Linked DNA regions of Homo sapiens: region 1 is linked to region 2. The links are contacts of gene promoters, found by promoter capture Hi-C in human tissues and cell types (Jung and others, 2019). All regions are on one chromosome and are shown on one strand. Each heading gives the region's core, a stretch centred on a gene start or on the middle of the fragment in contact. The rest is flanking DNA. Distances are from core to core; before and after follow the strand shown. Region 1 has its middle 30 kb from the start of MAPK1IP1L. Region 2 holds the start of PELI2 (pellino E3 ubiquitin protein ligase family member 2).

Region 1 (4,864 bases), core at 2,069-4,568, 1.0 Mb before region 2:
TAGGGCTACTGGTGTGAGCAACTAACTGGTATTTTTTTACTACTTACTCTGTGCCACATCCTGGAAATTCAATACTGAACAAGTTAAATGGTTTCTGCCCTTGTGTAGTTTACAAGCTAGTGGAAGAGACAATCACTAAATAATATAAATTACATTTGTAATGAGCGATGGGGAAATAATGTGTAACAGTATTCTGGAGTCAAGGAAAGCTCACCAGAGGAAATGACATTTGAGCTGAAATTTGACAGCTGAGCAGGATTCAGGCTGGAGATATGCTTAGGGAAGGGTGCAAGAAGAGACTGCAAAAAGGGCAAGGGGGAGAGACAATCCTGTATGCAGGATGGTATGGGTCAGGAGCAGCAATACCTGCCTATATGTTGATAGTGTTGGGGCCAGAGGATGTGAAACGGAGCATGATAGGGTAGAAGACCTATGATTGGCTCTGTTTCTGTCCCTATATTCTGTCTACTAGATTAAGTTAGCTGTTCTCCCATCTACAATACAGAGAGCTCCAATAAACTCAGTTTTAAGTTTTAGGATCCCTTGGCTCTCCAGGCTAACCATATGAGGGAGACGCTTCGCACGGAGATTTGGGTTTCCTGGTGTTCTATTAGGCATATTTTTCCAGCCAGGTGGAAGAGGAAGTCTTTCTGGGTTTTTTTTTGTTTTTCTTTTTGTTTTTTTGAGACAGAGTTTCGCTCTTGTCACCCAGGCTGGAGTGCAATGGTGCGATCTCAGCTCACTACAACCTCCGCCTCCCGAGTTCAAGTGATTCTTCTGCCTCAGCCTCCCGAGTAGCTGGGATTACAGGCATGTGCCTCCACATCCGGCTACTTTTTGTATTTTTAGTAGAGACAGGGTTTCACCATGTTGGCTAGGCTGGTCTCGAACTCCTGACCTCAGGTGATCCACCCACCTCAGCCTCCCAAAGTGCTGGGATTACAAGCTTGAGCCACCACGCCTTGCCTGAAGTCTCCTTTTTATGAACCTAATATCTTTCAACGTGCCTAATATTTGTCAAAGAATTAGTCTCAGCACTGTGCTGTTTAGGGGATGGGACATTATTCCTGTATTTACTCAAAAGGAGAAATTAGAAAAACCCTTGATTGCATAATTTAGTCAGCTCATACCCCAAGTCACTTCAATTTCCCTATCTTGCTTCTTGTTATTGTTTTTAAAAATAGGCTGGGCGCAGTGGCTCACGCCTGTAATCCTAGCACTTTGGGAGGCTGAGGTGGGCAGATTGCCTGAGCTCAGGAGTTCGAGATCAGCCTGGGCAACATGGTGAAACCCTGTCTCTACTAAAATACAAAAAATTAGTCAGGCATGGTGGCGTGTGCCTGTAGTCCCAGCAACTCGGGAGGCTGAGGCAGGAGAATTGCTTGAACCTGGGAGGCGGAGGTTGCAGTGAGCCAAGATCACACCACTGCATTCCAGCCTGGGTGACAGAGTGAGACCAAAAAAAGCAAAAAACAAAAAACAAAAAAACAAACCAGAAAAGTGGGATGTTTATACTTTATAAAAGGTACCCGGAGGAATTTCAGTTCAGCTGTTCAGTCTATGGCTGCTGTAGTAAACAGCTATACTTCCAAGGCCTTGCACAGAGCAATCCCCAAGGCAACATTTCCCAAGGTGTATTTTATACAACACCAATTTCTAGAGCTGCACCTTGAGTAAAGGGTTCCATGGATCAGTAAGTTTGAGGACACTGAATGTGAAATCCATTCATGAAGAAGTACCACCACATTAGTACATTAAGGGGCTAGCAAGTCCTATAGTAAAAAAAAACAAAAACAACAAAAAACCAGTATTTCCCAAGTACTTAATCACAGGAAATTTTTGTTTGAATAACTGCTTATTTCTATGGCAGGACTACCAGAGATTATTGCTCATTTTTATTTTAATTTTTTTTGAGACAAAGTCTCACTCTGTCGCCTAGGCTGGAGTGCAGTGGAGCAATCTCGGCTCACTGTAACCTCCGCCTCCCGGGCTTGGGTGATCCTCCCACCTCAGCTTCCCAAGTAGCTGGGACCGCAAGTGTGTGCCACCATGTCCAGCTAATTTTTGTATTTTTAGTAGAGATGGGTTTTTGTCATGTTGCCCAGGCTAGTCTCAAACTCTTGGGCTCAAGCAATCTTCCTGCCTCGGCCTCCCAAAGTGCTGGGATTACAGGTCCCACCCTGCTTATTTTTTATTTAACATTTATTCAGCATTGTGTACAAAGTAAGTGTGGTGTCATGCAGAAATGAATTACAGAGGGGAAGGGTTTAATATGCATTTGATATATAGTTTCAAAATATTCAATTATTTTATAGAAGAAATGGGATGAACTCATAAGATATCAAGTATAAATCAGTAATTGGCATCTAGAAAATGTGTGGGTTAAACATAGATGAAAAAAGCTGGGAGAACCAAGAGTACACGTGGTAATAAACATACATAAGGGGGACCTGGGCACTAAATAGTGATACATTAAATACCAATATTCACAAGTCTTTAATATGGTCACCCATTGGTGATATCTAGCCTGGCTTCATGTGTTCTCTGCCCAAGTAATGAAAATCCATGGCTGTTCAACAGACTAATGACAAGCTACAATTTTGGCCAATTGCTTCTCTCCAATAGAGCAAATATGTACCATTGACCCAGAACCTCCTCCTTCCCTTGCTTGAACCTCACCACTGGCCTGGAAGTTCCTCATAAGGTTAAACATAAAGTTACTGTATGACCAGCAATTCTACTCCTAGGGATATACACCCAAGAAAAATGAAAATATATGTCCACACAAACACCTGTGCACAAATGTTGATAGCAGCATTGTCCATAACAGCCAAAAAGTAGAAACAACCTAAATGTCCATCAACTGATGGATAAACAAAATGTGGTATTCCCATCAATGGAATATTATTCAGCCATAAATGGACATGAAATTCTGATACATGCTATAACTTGATGCACCTTGAAAACATTATGCTAAGTGAAAGAAACCAGTCACAAAAGGCTGCATATACTGTGATTCTATGTATATAAAATATTCAGAATAGTCAAATCTATAGAGGTGGGTTGGTGGCTGCCAGGGCTTGGGGAGAGAGATACAAAGAGATACCACTACACACTTACTAGAATGCATACAATTAAAAACAGGACTGGGCGTGGTAGTTCACGCCTGTAGTCTCAGCACTTTGGGAGGCCAAGGTGGGAGGATCACTTGAGCCCAAAATTTTGAGACCAGCCTGGGCAACATAGTGAGATCTTGTCTCCATGAAAAATAGAAAAACTTAGTCTGGTGTGGTGGCATGTGCCTGTAGTTCCAGCTACTTGGGAACCTGAGGTGGGAGGATCACTTGAGACTGGGAAGTTGAGGCTGCAGTAAGCCATGATCGTACCATTGCACTCCAGCCTGGGTGACAGAGTGAGACTCCTGTCTCAAAAAAAATAAAATAAAATAATAAAAATGAATAAATAAATAAATAAAATTAATTTAATTAAAAACGTTGACTGTACCAACTGTTGGTGAGGATGTAGACAATGGAATTCTCCTACACTACTGGTGGGAATGTAAAATGGCATGACCAATTGGAAAACAATTTGTCAGTTTCTTAAAAAGTTAAACATATACCTACCTAATGACCCACTCATTCTACTCCCAGGAGAAATATAAGTAGAGGTGGTCTTCGACTTACAATATGGTTACATCCCAATAAACCCATCATAAATTGAAAATATCGTAAGTTGAAAATGCATTTAATACACCTAACCTACCAAACACCATAGCTTAGTCTTGCCTACCTTAAATGTGCTTAGAACACTTACATTAGCCTACAATTGGGCAAAATCATCTAATACAAAGCCTATTTCATAATAAAATGTTGAATATCTCATGTAAATTATTGAATACTGTACTGAAAGTAAAAACCAGAATGAATGTATGGGTACTTGAAGGACAGTTTCTACTGAATGCATATTGCTTTCACAACATTGTAAAGTTGAAAAATCGTAAGTCGAATCAATGTTAAGTCAGAGATCATTTGTGTATATCCATACAAAGACTTATATATAAATGTTTATAGAAGTTTTATATCTAATATCTCCAAACTGGAAACAGTGCAAAATGTCCATTAATAGGTAAATGGGCAAACAAATTTTGATATAGCCAAAAATGGAATACTACTTAGTAACTGATACTCTAAACAACATGAATGAATCTCACAACATAGCTGAATAAAGAAAGCCAAAAGAAGGGTATATACTATATTATTTCAATTATATAAGTAAGATTCTAGGAAATGCAAGCTAATCTGTAGAGACAGGTAGTAGATAGTGTTACCTGAGGACAAAGAAGGGGATTATAAACAGGTATAAGAAAACTTTGGCCAGGCACGGTGGCTCACATCTGTAATCCCAGCACTTTGGGAGGTCGAGGTGGGTGGATCGCCTGAGGTCAGGAGTTCAAGACCAGCCTAACCAACATAGCGAAATGCCATCTCTACTAAAAATACAAAATTAGGGCCGGGTACAGTGGCTCACGCCTGTTATCCCAGCATTTTGGGAGACCGAGGCGGGCAGATCACGAGGTCAGGAGATTGAGACCATCCCGGCTAACACAGTGAAACCCTGTCTCTACTGAAAATACAAAAAATTAGCCAGGCATGGTGGCAGGTGCCTGTAGTCCCAGCTACTCGGGAGGCTGAGGCAGGAGAATGGCATGAACCTGGGAGGCAGAGCTTGCAGTGAGCCAAGATCAGGCCACTGCACTCCAGCCTGGGCAACAGAGCGAGACTCCGTCTCAAAAAAAAAAAAAAAAAAAATTAGCCGGGCATGGTGGCAGGCACCTGTAATCCCAGCTACTTGGGAGGCTGAGGCA
Region 2 (4,440 bases), core at 1,692-4,191:
GTGAGGGACATAAATGGAATGGCAAGCAGAGAGAGCAGGGAAGGGTCTGCCCTGGCAATCAAGTCAGCCAAGCCCACCCTGGCTCTTAGTGGGTTGGCAGATGGCACAGCCAGATTGTCCCACCAGCCTGGAGCAACTCACTAAAACAATTACATTCAAGAGAGGATAAATCCATGCTACAATCAGATTCTTAATATTAACTGGGGATGATGGGGTCATGTCCTAATTGGTTTAAGTTGTGAGCAAATAACTCTGATAAGAGATGCACAGAGAAAGTCACACGCTGGCTTCTTTAGGAACACAAGCCATCAACGCTCTGAGAAAATCAAGTTAACACCCCTCACCACTCTGCCATCCCCCCAGCCCTACCATTTGATACCATTTGAGAAGTGTTTTTACCTTTACTCATGTCTGTTTCCTTGAAATCAGAGAAAGCAACTGTGGGGACCTTGGGTACATAGAGTCTAGAAAAACAGACATAGTTTTGATGGGCTCATGCTGTGTTTCAAGAAAATTGAAAGTGTGAATGAGTTGCCAACAGTTAAAAATTGAGAGGTTTGGTGTAATCAGGATTTGAGGCTTTTAGAAAAATTACATCTAGCAAGAGTGAACTGTCATTGTCACATGGCAACAATCAGCTAGAGATGAGTGACAGATAAGCCCTGTAGACGGCACAGACCCTACCAATGTGCCACAGTCCTCACTCAGCCCATTTGCTCATTTGGATTTCCATGCCTGGTCCCTGTATGTATTCTTGACTGTGATCAATAGAATTGCTCTTACCAGTCAGAAGCTTTCAGGGCTCAGAGTGATTCACAGAGCTGATCTAGCCTTGAGCTGCCTAGGATAAAAAGCCTCCATTGACACAAAAACTCATTCACAACAACACTTCCTGTAAGTCAGTCTGATAAAGACAGACCTGATTAAGTACTATAAACATTCTCAAAGACATGTTGGGAGAGTAGAGAGACATGTCCCTCTGGAAGTCAGGGGTGCCACAGGCAGATAGCTAGACGGGGGGGCCTTGGAAGATTGGGATATCCTATGGGAAACTCTCAGCCTAGTGCTGGGAACTTAGTAGGAGGTTAATACATATTTCTTTCTATCTTCCTAAGAGCAGATGCGAAGCACAGCAAGGAGGAAATGCAGCCAGAACAGTATAATGCAATGCAACGCACACAGGCACAGCAGGCCAAGAGAGAAGGAAGGAGGTAATGGTAGCCTAGAGAGCAGAAGCAGCAACAGAGGAGGCCTAGAGAAGCTAGGGTGACAGAGGCAGGCATCATCGTAATCGTGACGGCGCAACTGCAGAATGATTCTGACAGATCTTTGATAGTCATACAATCTATGTGGTAAGTAGATGCACAGAGTACATGAAGACAACATTAATCCAGCAGAAATTTGAAAGAAATTTACATCAACACTGGGGAGGAGACATGATTTATCCCTTTAGTGAAGGAGTGCTGGTTAAAACTGTAACAGATTTTTTATTACATATAAAAAATATAGAGAATACGTAATATATGCAGAATAACTAATATTCATTTGAAATACAGAATTTCTATAGTTAGCTGAAATAAGTTAACTGTTTAATAAAGTTTATTTTTGGCTTACCAGTGGTGTGGCTTTAGTTACTTTGGAATAATTTATTTCTAAAACCTCAATTAAAAAAATCAGTTCCTAACTGAAGTAAAATTATCAGAAACATCATGTCACTACCGTAATAACCTGTCAGAGAATGTTACACAAGGGGTGCAGCACAGCGGAATGGAAGGTTACAGATGCAATTATTATTTTTTCTAGCCCTTTGCTTCGGGTCATAGCCAACCAGTCACTATACACAGGGTAGCTTCTGCAGTATTTATTTCTTTAAATATTTAACAGTGTTGAGAGGCAATGACTCGCAATAATATGTAGAGTTTCTAGCACATTATGAGTGCTTAATAAATGTTAGAACAATAAAATCCTGTATGATGAAAAACAGCAGTCAGTAAAACTATACAGTCTACGATATTTTAAAGCCATAGCAATAACTAGTTTAAAAAGAATAGAAAGCAAACAGTGCATTGATTAAATCACGGTCATAAAGGAACATTTACGTTCACTAAAAAGTCCACCCAGGTAATTTCCCCTTGTATGTATTAGGGGATGGAAAGAAGGCACAGGAAAAGTGGATAAAGTATGGATTAAAAAACAACTCTTCCCCCATCCCCCCGCCACCCCCCAAAAGCCAGGTGGAGCTCTATTGACCACAAGCCGGGGTAGCTACATCCAGTGCAACGGTGGGGTGCTCCAAGCGCCTTCGAAACGTCCTCTACGCCAGCACCAACTGGCAAAACCTTCTAATTTTCTAGACGCCTTTCTGCTTGGTTTTGGAAGGGGAGGCACCCAAGTGGGTGTGTGCGACACCTCTAGTTGTAAGCCGGGACACAGTGACGTCGAGAGAGCGCTATTCTACTCGGAGAGGAAGTTAATCCCATCGAACTCCAGCCAGGAAAACGTGGGCTTGGGAACCGCGGCCGCTCGTTTCCAGGATCTCCCGCGGGCCTTCGCGGCTGAAGAACCAGGCGGCGAGGGCTGAGGACCCCGCGCTCTAAGTTTGGGGAAGGAAGTGAGGAAAAAAAACAGAGCTGCTCCTTTAAGAACTTCCTTTCCCTTTTACTCTATGTTTACATAACACAGGGGCCGAGCCTCCGCCGGGCCGAGGGGGGCGGGGAGTGGGCGCGGACGGCCCCACGCGCCGGGGGAGGGGGCGCCCCGCGGGCCGGGGGCGGGCGCCTGGCTCTGCGTGGGGCGGGGCGGCTCCCACCTGCCCGCGCGCTGGCCCCCGCCTCCCCCGCGCGGCCCCAGCCTCTCGTGCGCCCGCTCCCTCCTCCTTCCCTCCCTCCCGCGGGGCTTCGGCGGCGGCGCTCAGCGCAGGCAGGTCCCCCTGCTGCCGGGTCCCATTTGTTGCCGGCTCTGACTCGGGGCGGCCGCGGCGCGCGGAGCTCCGGGGAGTCAGGCGGAGCAGCCGCGCAGCCACGACGGAGCAGCAGCGGGACTGGCCGCCCCGCGCCCCCTTCGCCGCCGTGCCCTTCCCCGGCGCGCTCACCCCGTTCTCGGGATGGGATTGTAGCGGCGGCGCGGACTCGGCGGGGATCGCGGCGGAGGCGGCGGCGTCGGCGGCGGCGTCGGCGGCCGAGCGGGGCTCCATGTTTTCCCCTGGCCAGGAGGAACACTGCGCCCCCAATAAGGAGCCAGTGAAATACGGGGAGCTGGTGGTGCTCGGGTGAGTCCTGGGGTCCCTGGTCCCGGGCAGCGGCGCGGGCGGGGAGCGCCCGCATCCTGGAGCGGGGCTGGCGGGGTGGCTCGGTGCTCTTTGGGGACCGCCGGGGCGCTCGGGGCGGCAGGAGAGGCTCTCAGGGCCCGGACGGCGGCGCGGGGGCGGGATGCGCCCCATCGGCGCGCGCTCGGGGTGCTGCGGCGGACGCCGGGCTGCGCTGTCCGCGCGGAGGACGCGGCGGAGGAAGTGGCCAGAACTCGGGCGACCCAGCGGGGGCAGCGCCGGGCACCGGGTCCGCGGCCGTATCGTGGGGGCGGGGGCAGGGGCTCCACTTCCCGCGCGCCGCGTCCGGGCCGGGGAGGGCGGGCAGGGACTCCATGTGAGGCGCCGCGGTCGCGGGCGCTTCGCGGGGTCGCTTCCCGAAGCTGAGAGGCCGGCCGGCGCGGAGCCCCGTCTTCCCACCTCCCTCGCGGACCGTGGTACCCGCGCCCCCGAACTCCGAGCGCGGCGCCGTGAGCTTGGGCCGCCGCGGGCTGTGGGATCCCCGGCTGCGCTTTGCAAATTGTTCCGATGACCGCCGCGGGCCGCCGCAGCCCGAGAGCAGTGAACTGTGTGTGACCCGGGCCGGCCGGCCCTCCGCTTCTCCCCGCTTGGAGTGCTCTGGAGGGGAGGGACAGGATGCGGCTGCTCGGGGCCTGGCACCGGGGCGCGGGCCGTATCCCCCCGGTCCCGGCCTCGCTGATGCCCTCCCGGCTGCGGGGAGCTCGCCAGCCTCGCCCGCCTCGGCTCCCTCTCTGCTGGTGAAAGCCGCATCTTGAAGATAGTAATTATGTACAATCGTTAAACGGCAGCAATTAGAGACTTCATCTACTTCCTGAGTTTCCTTGTGACATTTCTATTGTTTACCCTTAATAAGCCAGGAGAGAGGCTTTGCGGGCTTAAAACTGGATATAGTGGGCAGTGAAAGGGGAGGGGGAAGGGGGAAGTGCAGGAAACTGGGGGGAAGGAACAACTTGGGTTTAGTGTTGAAGAAAGGATTATTTTTTCCTTTGGATGTGTCGCTCTGGGAACCCGCGCTTTTGTCCTTCTGCGTTGAAAGACCTGTATTCAGAACATCCTCGGCGCTGATAGGTAGGCTTAGCACACATATGAGGAGTCATGGCTGTGGGAAGACTCAG

What was found. The method cuts DNA at HindIII sites, captures the fragments that hold promoters and counts their contacts. A contact is called where the count stands out against the background at its distance.
Region 1: a fragment that was not itself captured here is called in contact with the fragment with the promoter of PELI2 in region 2 in 1 of the 25 tissues and cell types used here (stomach).

Annotation. Positions count from the first base shown.
Region 1 is chr14:55,079,011-55,083,874 of GRCh38, forward strand. No RefSeq gene overlaps it. Among named protein-coding and RNA genes, the nearest start is that of MAPK1IP1L, 30 kb to the left of the region's middle. The HindIII fragment of the contact is 6,384 bases long and covers 127-4,864 here.
Region 2 is chr14:56,115,470-56,119,909 of GRCh38, forward strand. PELI2 (pellino E3 ubiquitin protein ligase family member 2) reads left to right here and starts at 2,942. Exons shown (of 6, transcript NM_021255.3): 1 at 2,942-3,268. The coding sequence starts at 3,192. RefSeq lists an enhancer at 2,330-2,569 and silencers at 2,700-2,759, 2,800-3,059, 3,350-3,419. The HindIII fragment of the contact is 5,780 bases long and covers 1-4,440 here.